Linked DNA regions of Homo sapiens: regions 1 and 3 are each linked to region 2. Evidence: promoter capture Hi-C in human tissues and cell types (Jung and others, 2019). All regions are on one chromosome and are shown on one strand. Each heading gives the region's core, a stretch centred on a gene start or on the middle of the fragment in contact. The rest is flanking DNA. Distances are from core to core; before and after follow the strand shown.

Region 1 (5,051 bases), core at 1,893-4,392, 200 kb after region 2:
CTGGGGCACATTGCCACTGTTCACCCTTATCTGTAAGGAAGGACAGGAAATGCCATCTTGTAGCTGGGCACATTTTTATGCCCAACAAAACTGGAATAGGCTCTTTGGCATACTCTGTATTTCACGTTTTAAGAAACTTTGCTTGCTCAAGCCTCCACTCCTTTATCTGTACAGTTCACTTGGACAAGACTGCCTTTTCCAACTTAACTATTTCACATGCTTCTATTCCTTCCACATTCAGTACAAGTTATTTACTCTTCTGAGAAGCATTCCTATCTGACCCTGGGCAGACTCAATCCCCTTCCCTTATTTCATATTTGCATTACTCTATTATAGCATTATCATATGTATAACTCAGTAGACAGATCACTTTGAAGGCCAAGATAGATGGTTTAAGTCTAGAGGCCAACTACAGCAGTGGACTCAGTCATTGCTTAATAAATGTTTATGGAATGAATGAATGAACAAATGAATATGTAAAAATTAGAATGAACAACTAAGCATATAAATGAAAAGCAGAATCATTAATCTTTTGGATAATCTTTTGGATAAAATAGTTATCCAAAAGAAAACTACGAGACTTAGACTCTGCTATTCATTTCTAATCATCATTCAGAGAAATATCTGCCATAGATTTGGGAAACTGTTATATTATGAAATTAAATGAAAGTAAGGAGGAAGATAGTATAGAAAATACTTGGTATACAAAAGTATGTGAGTTCCTCTGATTGAGGACCCATATTTATTATTTCTGTTGCTTTACCCATGAAAGGCTTGGTTCAAAGCAGCTTTCTAACAAATACTGAATGAATATTGTATTAAAAAGAAAAGAGAGAATATGAAAGAATTAGCAGGCTGTCTTTATCTGGTGAAATTCCAAGCAGTATACTATTAATGTCATGGTTGTGAGTAAATAATTTTAGGGTATAATAGATAAGTAATTAACAGTAGTAATAATTATTGCTCAGAATGATGCTATGTATGAAGCTGGCATTTTTAACTTCTTTTAAGATATGTGGGGTATCTGCAATGATCGTTGATGCTTAAGCTTTGCATTTTTATAGCCATACATATATGACTGTATAATTGTAAGAAATAATTTTATAATTACATACTATTAGGATCTAATTATGAAAACCAATGCCTTCACTCAGGAGTATATTTTGTGAGAAATTTTTTCCATCAATGAAAAAGAAGAGGTATTCCATTGACTTTGTGTATAATCAAGATATTTATTTTTTAAATATAATTAAATTGATGGTATTAATTTGCTTTGTTAAATCTGGTTTAGGGCAGGAGAATGCTGGGACTCGGTCTCCTTGTAAGACAATTGTAATGAAAGGCTGGCTTTATGTGCAGGGAGGTTACGTTCTCTTTAAACACTTCTAGGCCCCAGACCTGGAGACTCCAGCTCCTAGAGTGCCTAGTCCACTGCTAAAACCAGGAAGAAGGAGTATAGATAGAGGAAAAAAAGCTTACTTTATTTTTCTCCTGTTCAGAGGTAAATAGGGAAAAGAAAATGGAAGTCAGAAGTAGAAAATCAAGGCTTCCTTTCTTTCTTGAATAGAAATTTTTAAAAAAGGCAGGTCCTAGAATTTGAGGGAAACAGCAAGGTGGAGTGCCTTTCACTGTAACCTACGTAGGTATACTAGAACAGAGCCAACTTGTGATGGCCTCACAGTGACATGGGATGGTGGCCCCCACTTTCCTGAGGTTTAAAACTTCTGACCCACCATGTATGACCATGTATCACAAGTTCCATGGATCACAGACACTGAATCAAGGACCAAGGTGACCAGGCAAGAAAGGCTGATGGTAAACAGCCAGGCCAGTGAACCAAATGGAGAGCCCAGCAGACTCAATTTCCAGCATTGGCCGTGTGTCTTCACAGGGCCAAGAGGACCACGGAAGGAGACAAAGGAAGAGGCAGAGAATATCACACCCAAGGACTGCTATTTTATACCACCTATAAACCCCTCACCTCCCATCTCCTCTTTTAAGAGGACATTAGCTAATGAAGTATATCAGGTAACCAATCAAGAGACAGAACACCCATTCAGTGCACTGTTTACATTTTTAAATCACATTAAGTACACCAGTTTGAATCCTTAATCCCCCTCCCTGAATTAATCAACAAGAGGGCTTCAGGAGGAATATTATTCATGGCCTCTGAAGATCTATATTGTAGTGGGAATTACATTTGCATTACATTTGAATTAAATTCACCATCCCCTCCACCCTAAACATGCAGGTTTATGTAAGGCATTACATTCGAGCTTAAAGATAGAAACATATAAAAGCACAGGGAACAACACCAGATTTACATTTTACCAGGAATAATCCTGGTCAGAAAATTTTTGTATATGAATCCATTATGCATAAGAAAGCAAACTCTGTGGCCATCTGAGAATGATTCTGCTGAATTGGGTAGACTTTGAAGACTGAGAACAGTAATAATACCTCACATCTTGGAATGTATTTGTTTCACTTAGTAGGGAGAGAATACCATTACTTTAGGTTTTACAGGGTAGATACTTGTGAAATGAAAATAGATGCTTGATTTTTTTTTTGGTCTTCTTTTGGTTTTTAGAAGTGGTCAAGGGCAAATTAAGCAGGAGTGGAATAAGAAGAGATTTTGCACCTGTGATCCCAGCTACTGGGTAGGCTGAGGTGGGAAGATTGATTGAGTCCAGGAAGTGGAGGTCGCAGTGAACTGAAATTACCCCACTGCACTTCAGCCTGGGCAACAGAGCCACACCCTGTCTCAAAAAAAAAAGAAGAGATTTTGATGGGAAAGACACATCTCTCATCATATATTCAAAAATACCCTTATGTGAATGATATATGACACCCCATTCTGTATCCTCAAGGAATTAACAATCTAGTTTAAGGAGAAATTGTTTAAGAAAACAAACCTGAAATCATGGTAGCAAAAGAAAACATGAACTCAAAAGCTTAGTGGTTTGTCAAGGATTCAATGTAAGATTATTAAGAAGTTCAAAGAAGAGTTCAGTATCAGGGAAGGCTCTAAAGATTATACAGTAACTTGATTAGGAAAAAAAATAAAAGGGCATGATGTAGATGTGGATAATCAGTACTTGCAAAAGCAAAAATAAATAAATAAAAAGGAAGGAAGGAAGGAAGAGTATTTATGGAAAATCCTGAAAATCCAGCGCTGTAGTTGGGAACAGTAGAAAATAAGAACAGGTAGGTACATGTAGATCAAGCTGGTCCTAAAGAGCCAGAAAGAAAAGTTTATTTATTTATTTATTTACTTTTTTTGAGACAGGGTCTCATTCTGTTGCCCAGGCTGGAGTGCAGTAGTGCAATCCTGGCTCACCACAGCTTTGACCTCCAGGGCTCAAGCAATCCTCCCGCCTCAGCCTCTCAAGTAGCTGGGACTACAAGTACGCACCACCATACCTGGCTAATTAAAAAAATTTTTTTTGTAAAGACAAGATCTCACTATACTGCCCAAGCTAGTCTTAAACTTTTGGGCTCAAGCAGTCCCCCCACCTTGGCCTCCCAACGTGCTGGGATTACAGGTGTGAGCCACTGTGCTCAGCTGAAAATTTCATTCTTTTGGGGAGAAACATTGAAGACTCATTGTAGGTTCTTGAACAAGAGAGTAACACTCAAAATAGAGTTTTAGGTACATTTGCCTGTGTCAGGATGGAATGAAGGGAGAGGGGCAGGTGACTAGCAAGAAAGTACAGAGGGTGCAGTTGAACTCAGTGTGGGGATTGATACAGAAGCAATGAGAGAAAAAGGAGAAAAATTAAGATAATTAAAATAAGGAATTGACAGAACACAATGACAGAAAAATTGAATAGTGTAACTGTTAGCCCTGTTTCCCTAGAATCATCCAATTTATATCTGTTGTCCCAGAAGAATTATTGATAACACTCCTTTCACTTGGATGATAAATTATTTAGTCATCTTATGTGTATTGGAGAATAGTTTCAGCTCAGGCAGCTGTGATAATGGAACTGCCTTGAAGTGCCTCCAACAAATATAGGGAAGACAGGCATTCAGAATGAAGCAGAATTTCATTGTAGACCTGATTAGAGGGAAGAGTAGCAGGGTTTCAGTGTAAGTGCCCAACAGACGGTTGAGATAAAAGACAAACAGATGCACATTCCAGAAACTTTGATTTTGCAGTCATCTGCATCTTTTGTAAAAGCCAGTTTGTACCAAGCTCTGCATTTTGATTCTGAATATGAGGCAATGAATCAAACAAGGGCATTGATGACATCCAGCACACTCTACCAAAGTCAATATACCATCAGAGACCCGGAGAGGAAGTGGAAGACTACCATTCAGGGGAAATTTTCAATAAAGGTCCAACTGGAGGAGTCCGAAGCTTTCTTCAGCCTAACATTCCAGCCCATTTTCCACCATTCTCCCTCATAAATGTTTGACTATGTCCAGATTAATATAGTCACTGCCTGGTATTAATGGTGGATTCCCCCTTCTCCTTGCCCTCAAGTCTTACTGTAACCTCCCTCTACGTCTCCCTCTCCCCTTCTGAAAACCTATCCCTTGCTTCTCCCTCTGCCCATTTCCTCCTGCTACTTTAATGCCACTTAATTTCTCATTTCCCCATGAAGCCTTCTTGACCACAACAACACACATGCACTCTGTAGCCTATGACCTCATAGCATTTAATGTCTTTACTACTAATTAGATTTTAATTTAATCATACATTTGCACCATGACATCCATTTTCTGTGGTTTTATATGTTCTATAACTCCTTATTCAACCACTCGATTATTTAACTGTTAATGCACATATCTAATCTCCTCAAGGTTATATGCCCTTTGAAGGGGGGCTGCTATTTTTCTCTGTATCATATAACTCTTGACTTGGTGCTAGTCCTTATTTCTCAAAAACAAAACAAAATATTTTAATGCTTTTTATGTTGATGAGTGAATTCAAATCCTATTACTAATGCATTTTCAGAGTATTTAACGTTTACTATGAACTATGTCAATTGTATCCTTTTTCATACTAATAAGAATCACAACAATATCAAGAAGTTCTGGTGTTT
Region 2 (4,380 bases), core at 1,442-3,941:
TGATGGAATTTTCACACTTACTTAGCTTGACGGAAAGGCCAGAATACCTGGAGTCCCCATGATTCTTGGAGAGCTGTGTAATTCAAATCAAACCCCATTTTAAAATATTACTATAAATTTTTTTTATATGTGGGGTAGTAGGAGAGTACAGAACAAGTTGCTTTATAATAGAACCATGGTATTGATGCCATGTTTATAAATGACTATTTAAACTACTAAATATTAATAGATATTCTTCCCTGGTGAGGATAACATTAGAATCAGAACAATCGATCCTATTTCTTAATGTCCAATTTACATAGGCTACCTTCCATCCATGCAGCATTGCACAGAAAATGTCTTTGTAATTTTTGGATTAGAAAATTTAACAATATGAAAGATCTAATCCCCTCCTCCATTTCTGCAGATTATTTTATTGATTTTGGGCTATTTCCAGTGTCCCCTTTTTCAGTGACTGTGGAATCGCTAGAAGTATTCTTAAAAAAAACCTTGAAGGTCATTAGATCCTAGGCAATGAATGCCTTCATTCAACAAGGGTACTGCCCTCCTTTGCCTACAAGCCGTTTAACATCAGCAAGTTCCCCCAAAGGGCCTGCACTTTAACTTGTGTGATGTGTGACCGAACAGGTCACATATCTAAAATACTTAGCTTTCTCAAATTTCTCTGGTCGGCAGCACTGAGTCACTAATGCCACAGTCACAATGTTTCAGACTAGATTGACCTCTTTCTAGTTTTCAATGGAATTATTCCATGTAATCCGATTTACACAGCCATTTAATCAAAGCGAGAAAGGAGATTACAGAGCTCACATTTGTTTTGCAAAGCAAGGGTGCAAGGATAATCAATCCTACTGCCTCTCAAAGTGACTTGATAGTACATCCCCTGGCTTTGGAGTGTTGGACATTAACCTTATCTGTCTCCTGTGTTCTTGTTTAAATAGGAAGGTTTAGGCTCTTTTCCTGAACTAGAAGGTAGCAGCTTCTTCCCCCAGATCTCACCACCATCCATGGGAGCAGATGCTACTATAAGAAGGAATAGGTCTCTACCCTTCTTATAATTTCGCAGAAAGCTTGTCTAAATCAAGAGATTACAATAAAACTTTTCTTTTGTTGCAAGAATCTTTAACATTTGCATTTCGACAGCACGCTGTGGTGATTCCAGGTGCGGTGCTCAATGCCTTGCCTGAAAGCTAACCTGCTTGTAAGAGAGGGGAGAGGCACATCGCGTCTTTTCTCTTAGAGAGTGCTCTAGAGACTATGCAAGCCTCTTTTAGCCAGGCAATGTCCCTTTCCCCTGCCTTTTACCACACCGGTACAAGGGGCTAGAGTCTTGCAACTTTTTGCAGGCCTAGATATCTGTTTAAAATATGATGCTAAGCAGGTCATTTGATAAAGCATTTTGAGCACATTGATGCCTTCATTCTACACCAACGATGTGTACAAACACCCCGGTTTCCTTTTTCCCCACCACTTCCACCCCTTCCACACATTTCAGGAACTGCAATCTCCAACAGAACCTCTGGGGGGTGAAAGGGCAACCCTTAGCCAACCGCGGCAGATAACACATAACAATTTCTAAGGGGGAAAGTGAGAGGAGGTAACAATCAACAATGGTGAAGAGAACTGTGGATAGGGGCACCGTGGCGGCCCTTTCTAAACGAAGAACCAGGTATTTTCTTCAAGGGAAAAAAAAATCTAATTGTCCCCCCAGGCAGCGCTTTACCCACAGTGCTTTATGTATAATGCAGAATTTAGCAGCACTGGGAATTATCTCAATCACTATCATTCAGAGGTGCCTATTTTATAAAAAGCCTTTATCCCTTTTGAAATGGAAAAAGGTGCGTGCATTGTGGAGGTACTAGAGCTCTTTAGAGCCCACACAGAGCTGCAAACTAGGCAGACACCGCCGAGAGCCAAGTTTCCCGGGCAGGCGGGCAGGTTCCCGCCCCGCCGAGAGCTGCCGCTTAGGAGTTCCGCGTTGGCTTCGCTCCCGCGGCTGCACCCGCGTTCGCGCCGCTCCTGGTGCCCGGCGCCCACCTCGGGGCTACACAAATAAATCTGAGTGAGAGAGCTAGTGAGGGTGGCGCGTGGGGTGCTGTTTCATAATCTCCTGGAATCCACGGGAAAACCGTCTCCTATGCAAAGACATGCCTTCCCGTGATAACTTAACATTCCATGGCCCAAAAGCCAATCTTTCCACCAGACGGGAATTACGGTTTCCGACTGACAGCTCAAAACTTAACTGCTGAGGCTCCAAACTTGACACTGGCTCCCTCTCAGCACTCCCACTCCTTTTCTCCCTGGCTCACCCGGCTCGGCTCGGGATCACACACCACGCCGGCCTCCCCCGCATCCTCTTGTCTCACCCGGCAGGCACAGCCCTGCACGCCCCAGCTGCAAGTCCCAGGGAGCGCCGGCTTCCCCGGGGCACCGGGCGCGATTTTTCCTGGAGAGCCTGGGAGCTCCCGGGCGCGCCCTACTCACTTGTGTCTTCTTCATAAGGAAAGGCAGCGCTGCGATCCAGCACAAACAGTGGTGTGGCGACTCCGTTTAGCTGTTCTGGAGCTCCAGCATATTGCACGAACAGCGGCGGCAGATAGTCCACGCATTGGGTAGCCCGAGCGCAGCGCCCTCTCCACTGTCCCTGCTTCCCGCAGCGCTTCTAGTCTCGGCGCGAGGCGGCGAGCGAAGCCCGGCTGCTGAGCCGCCGGCGCTTTTATACAGTTCCCGCCCGCCTGCTCCGGACACGCCTCCTTCCCTTCCGGAGCCCGGGGTAGGCGAGAAGCAGGCAAGGGCGCGGAGGGAAGAATCGGGAGGGCGGCCAGAGCACGGTAAATGCCCCAGAAGTTTGGCAGATTAGGCCAACCTTGTCCGCTCGCCTGGGGGCCCCGGACCTGCACTGGCGGGAGACCGCGAAGGCGCGGGGACGCAGAGGGCGAAGCTTGGTACCCTGCAGCTACTGCTCGCGAGGAGTCCCAGCTTACCCTCCCGGATCCGCTGGGGCTCACCTGGCACCCCCGGGGACAGACGAAATACCTCGCGCGCCAGAGAGGGCTCGGAGCTCCCTCTGTTATACAAAGTCGGAGAGGGAGAGGAGTCCGGGAGGTTCGGAGCAAAGAATTCACCCTGCCTGCCTTAGAGAAATAAAGTTTAATTGCGATCTGTAGTTAGGCCATTGTCCTATCACCTCTATTTTTTAAAAAAAACAATTACTTTAGTGAATGAATATTTAATAATTACAAGAATTGTTGACTCAAGGTTAAGTATTGCAAGGGGAGACGCTTCATTTGGAATGGTTTGTTACTGTGTCTTTAGAAATTAAGATTGAAAGAGAAGCGATAGATTATTAAACTACAGGTCGCCAACACAGCAAGGCTTTGAAAGTTGTACTTTTTTGAACGGAAAGATAATGCAACCACAATAATAATAGCTAACATCATTATGTGATGCACTTATTCATGTGCCAGGTGCCAGACTAAGAACTTCGCATAGATTATCTCATTAAATTCTTTCATCAAATCTATTAGTGTAGATCTTATTATTTTATTCCCATTTTATGGACGATGAAATACAAGGTTAATTTTCTTGACCAACCATATCTAGTAAATGGCAGAGCTCTAATTTAAACCTGGAGCTCCAGCTGTACAGTCTTAAAAAATACTTCAAATATTTTATTGATTCTCCAGAATGTGTCTGTTTTTGTTTGTATAACTGGAGAACATTCCAAAGCATTTCATTAATTTTTTAAAAGAAAATATTAGCTGAACATTAACATCAGTGATCTTTAAAAGAAAGAATAATGTATGAGTTTAGGAATTAGTTATTTTAATAATAGAGTAGGAGTCCAAATTTGCTTTAATTAGTTCCGGTGCGTTTGTTAAACATGAATATGCCAAACCTGTAATCAGGGCGAAGCTTGTTTATTTCACTCCAGATGTGCTGACTTCTGTGATTTCCCCAAATGTGGGAAACTCGACTGCATAATTTAGTGGGGGACTGCGTTCTCACTTTCTCATGTTAGAAAAAATATGTATAGACAGCACATCAATCATGATTCCAAGTTGATAGTTGCTTAGAAAGATTTTTATACATTAGGTACTCTTAGTACAAATATATCGAACATCAAATATCAAAATGAGCTTAATTTGGATACTGGAGGCATAGCAAATGATTGTTTTTTTTTTCTTCAAGATTTATTTTTATTTTTTATTTTTTAGATGGAATCTCGCTCTGTCTCCCAGGCTGAAGTGCAATGACGCAATCTCGGCTCAATGCAGCCTCCGCCTCCCAGGTTTAAGCGATTATCCCGCCTCAGTCTCACAAGTAGCTGGGATTACAGGTGCCCACCACCACGCCCAGGTATTTTTGTTGTTGTTGTTG
Region 3 (4,354 bases), core at 350-2,849, 230 kb after region 2:
GGGTATGTTTTCTTCTCCTCCTCTTCTTCCTCCTCCTCCTATAGGAAGAGGCTAGTGGACAAAGAGAGAAAGGACTGAGGGAGGAACTTAGGAAAAGGAAGAAAACATTTGCTCTCTACAAATAAGATGAAACTTAAAATCCGGGTCTAGGAATAAGTAGGAATAGTTTATCTTTGTTACTTTCTCTGTGGCTAACAATTTAGAAGCAGAAGAATACAAAGAAGCTCTCCAAAGAACTGAACTTTTCTGAAACACAGTTTCCTTATCTATACAATTGGGGTGGAGGGTGGTTAAAGTAATATTAGCTCAAAACCAAACAAATCAATTGAGAGAATACATGCATACCCACTATTCAAACAAATCAGTACTTAAATAAATATTCAACTTTTTTTTTTTTTTTTTGAGACAGAGTATTGCTCTGTCACCCAGGCTGGAGTGCAATGGCGCAATCTCGGATCACTGCAACCTCCCCCTCCCAGGTTCAAGCAGTTCTCATGCCTCAGCCTCCCGAGTAGCTAGGACTACAGGCACACACCACCACGCCCAGCTAATGTTTCTTGTATTTTTAGTAGAGATAGGGTTTCGCCATGTTGGTCAGGCTGGTATCGAACTCCTGGCCTCAGGTGATCCGCCTGCCTCAGCTTCCCAAAGTGCTGGGATTACAGGTGTGAGCCACCACCCCTGGCCTTAATATTCAATTATTTCTTATTGATTACAACTTTGTTTGAAGGTGGCAAGAGGTACAATGTTGCCACCAACAGTAAAGAATGCACCATATTCAATTTCTCAAAATTTTCACTAAAGTTTCTAGGGATGAGTAGTTCTTAAAAATATTCCCAAATGTCTCCGTATCTCTTTCTTTCCCTTTCTTTCTGTTTTTCTGTGGGGAGATGGATTGTCTAGAGAGCCTGCTTTTTTGTATTAAATGATGGGTAGAATTTTAAAACTCCCTTGGGAGTAGATTCTTTGTGTCATCTATGTGAAAAGACTTTTTGCTCTGTTCACAAAATCCCCAAATAAAACCTGATTCATCATAATTCAGCCCTAACATCAGATTTAGAAATGCGTGAAGTAATCTATGTACTTGCAATTTAGGACTTAATAAATTACTAATAGAACTCTGAATTGAGGGCTTTTTACAATCCAACTAATTTGTTACACCTAGATATCACTACAAAGATTGCATATATTTTATAAAGTAAACACCAGTTTGAGGTTCTCGGGTAATTATTTTAATAAGTGCCATGGTTTCCACACACACACACAGATAAAATTAGCTGCTCATCATTATTTTAGACTTATCTTTTTGTGGTTTTAAAAAATGTGTGGTATTCTTTAAAATATAACCATATGACTTTAATGCACTACCAGTTTATTACAACTTTTTCACAATTTCCTTAGTGTATTTTAATTGCATCTAAGACACCCTGCCACACCGCCTTTTTTTCTTCCCTTATTTTTTTATTTTCTCCTCATTTTTCAGAATCTTAGACTATACATTTTCCTCAAACACATTTTGGCAAGAGTGTGTTAAATATTTTAAATAATAGAAAAAAATAGTGAGCCTATGAAGATATCAAAAGTCAGTGTAGGCCTGGGATAAAGTTGGGATGCATTTTCCCCAGTTTGCCTCAAATACATACTCTCTTTTGATTTTTATTTCCATAGAAATCAATGAGTCTATTTATAAACGTCCATATAGTGCGTCCATCCTCCAGAAGAAAAAATGTTCATTTTTTCAATTTTTTTTTTCCTTTTTTTTTTGAGACAGCGTCCCACTTTGTCACCCAGGCTGGAGTGCAGTGGTGCAGTATTGGCTCAATGCAGCCTCAACATCCCAGATTCAAGCGATCTTCCTGCCTCATCCCCTCAAGTAGCTGGAACTACAGGCATGCACCACCATGCCCAGCTAATTTTTATATATTTAGTAGAGACGGTTTCGAACTCACGAGCTCAAGCAATCTGCTCTCCTTGGCCTCCCAAAGTGCTAGGATTACAGGTATGAGCCATGGTACCTGGCTGGCTCATTTTTCAGTTTTAATTATTGATCTTAGAGCCCATTTCATGATTGATTCACCTGCTGTATATCTGCATAGATTAAGTAGAATTTCTGCCAGCAAAATATTTGTTTACTGGTTTACTGTGTAAAACAGAGGTTTGATATAGTCTAAAGCTGTGTTGGTTGGGAAATTCTGCTTTTGTGTCTACTCAGAAAATCTTTCTACCTCAATTACCAATATAATTGAATTTCAGCATGTATAGCACCAATTAGTGCATTCAATATGGTCATACTGCTTTGTTCCATCTCTTCCTTCTAGTCCCCTTCCATCTCCATATCGGAGAGAGGCATATGTTTCCAGATTCTTGTTGTGTATCACAGCTGTGTTAAAAGGCCCAAGCAAATAACTAGTTTGGATATTTTGGCTCCACAGTTTTTCTTTTGGTATCATTGTTATGCTCCTAACACAATTTGGGCAATAGCTCTGCCAAATTCCTTGTGGGGGTGGTAGGGGGGACGGCCTCTTTGTTTGTTTGTTTTAATGGATTAAAAAAACCTCTTAGTAAAATTAAGTCTAACTCTCGAACATGTTTGTGAAAAGATTGTTTATAGATGTTAAAGGATCTAGTGTACTGAAGTCATCTAGCAAATATTACAGCAGAGCAGCAGGTATGCTTATGTAATTTAAATTCAATTATACATATGTAGGAGACAGAGAGAAAAAGACATCATTTGATTTTGTCCTCTGTCCTCGGGATGAATTTATGGCTGTGAGTGAACATGAAATGAACAACGTGAATCTGTTGTTTCCCAAGTTATCTAACTTCTGCCTAAGTGAGAGTATCTTGCTACGGTGAGTGTGATCTTCATTTATAAATATGCAGTACATATTTTTTTTTTACAGCATGGTCCTTAAGTGCCTTCCATGCAAGCCAGCTATCACCTGGTGCTTAACGAAAGAAACAGAGCTTTATTCTAAGGCTGGAGGAACAATTGTATTGAACTTATTGAAAGCCAGTACCATACTGTATTTGAAGGTCATTTTCAAGGGCATTATTTTTTCTATTTTAATTAAACTTAATTTTGTTTGTAAATACAGTGTTGCATTCTGTCTCCCAGGCTGGACTACAGTTGGCACTATCATGGCTCAGTGCAGACTGCACCTCCTGGGCTCAAGCAATCCTCCTGCCTCAGGCTCCTAAGTAGCTGGGACTAGAAGTGCACCACCACACCGAGACAATTTTTGTGAATGTGTGTGTAGAGATGAGATCTTGCTTTGTTGCCCAGGCTGGTCTCAAATTTCTGACCTCAAGTGATTCTCCTACCTCAGCTTCCCAAAATTCTGGGATTACACCACACTCAATCCTTTATTTTTATTTTAAGCACTGAGATTAAAGTTTATTCCATGTGAGATGCTACTATGCTGTAAAGCCATCAATTAGCAGTCTAAACCATAATTTATCTTAGTATAATCTATAGTTTTGTGATGGTGCTGGGAAAACTGGCTAGCGATATGCAGAAAACTGAAACTGGACCCCTTCCTTACACCTTATACAAAAATTAATTCAAGATGGATTAAAGACTTAAATGTTAGACCTAAAACCATAAAAACCCTAGAAGAAAACCTAGGCAATACCATTCAGGACATAGGCATGGGCAAAGACTTCATGACTAAAACATCAAAACCAATGGCAACAAAAGCCAAAATTGACAAATGGGATCCAATTAACTAAAGAGTTTCTGCACAGCAAACGAAACTATCAGCAGAGTGAACAGGCAACCTACAGAATGGGAGAAAATTTTTTGCAACCTATGCATCTGACAAAGGGCTAAAATCCAGAATCTACAAAGAATTTAAACAAATTTACAAGAAAAAAAATCAAACAACCCCATCAAAAAGTTGGCAAAGGATATGAACAGGCACTTCTCAAAAGAAGACATTTATGCAGCCAACAAACAGAAAAAAAGCTGATCATCACTGGTCACTAGGGAAATGCAAATCAAAACCACAATGAGATACCATCTCACGCCAGTTAGAATGGTGATCATTAAAAAGTCAGGAAACAACAGATGCTGGAGAGGATGTGGAGAAATAGAAACAGTTTTACATTGTTGGTGGGAGTGTAAATTAGGTCAACCATTGTGGAAGACAGTGTGGTGATTCCTCAAGGATTTAGAACCAGAAATACCACTTGACCCAGCAATCCCATTACTGAGTACATACCCAAAGGATTATAAATCATTCTACTATAAAGACACATGCACACATATGTTTTTAACAGCACTGTTCACAATAGCAAAGACTTGAAACCAACCCAAATGCCCATCAATGATAGGCTGGATAAAGAAAATGTG

The links. Contacts are between HindIII fragments. The study calls those that stand out against the background at their distance.
Region 1: a fragment that was not itself captured here is called in contact with the fragment with the promoter of KITLG in region 2 in 2 of the 25 tissues and cell types used here (H1 embryonic stem cells and heart right ventricle).
Region 3: a fragment that was not itself captured here is called in contact with the fragment with the promoter of KITLG in region 2 in 1 of the 25 tissues and cell types used here (H1 embryonic stem cells).

Annotation. Positions count from the first base shown.
Region 1 is chr12:88,776,045-88,781,095 of GRCh38, forward strand. No RefSeq gene overlaps it. Among named protein-coding and RNA genes, the nearest start is that of KITLG, 200 kb to the left of the region's middle. The HindIII fragment of the contact is 3,763 bases long and covers 1,262-5,024 here.
Region 2 is chr12:88,577,780-88,582,159 of GRCh38, forward strand. It overlaps KITLG (KIT ligand), which reads right to left and starts at 2,692. Exons shown (of 10, transcript NM_000899.5): 1 at 2,485-2,692. The coding sequence starts at 2,499. LOC105369885 (a long non-coding RNA gene) reads left to right here and starts at 2,757. Exons shown (of 4, transcript NR_188177.1): 1 at 2,757-2,831; 2 at 4,218-4,359. It also overlaps the pseudogene RNU1-117P. The HindIII fragment of the contact is 2,929 bases long and covers 2,006-4,380 here.
Region 3 is chr12:88,806,037-88,810,390 of GRCh38, forward strand. No RefSeq gene overlaps it. Among named protein-coding and RNA genes, the nearest start is that of LINC02458, 210 kb to the right of the region's middle. The HindIII fragment of the contact is 9,769 bases long and covers 1-4,354 here.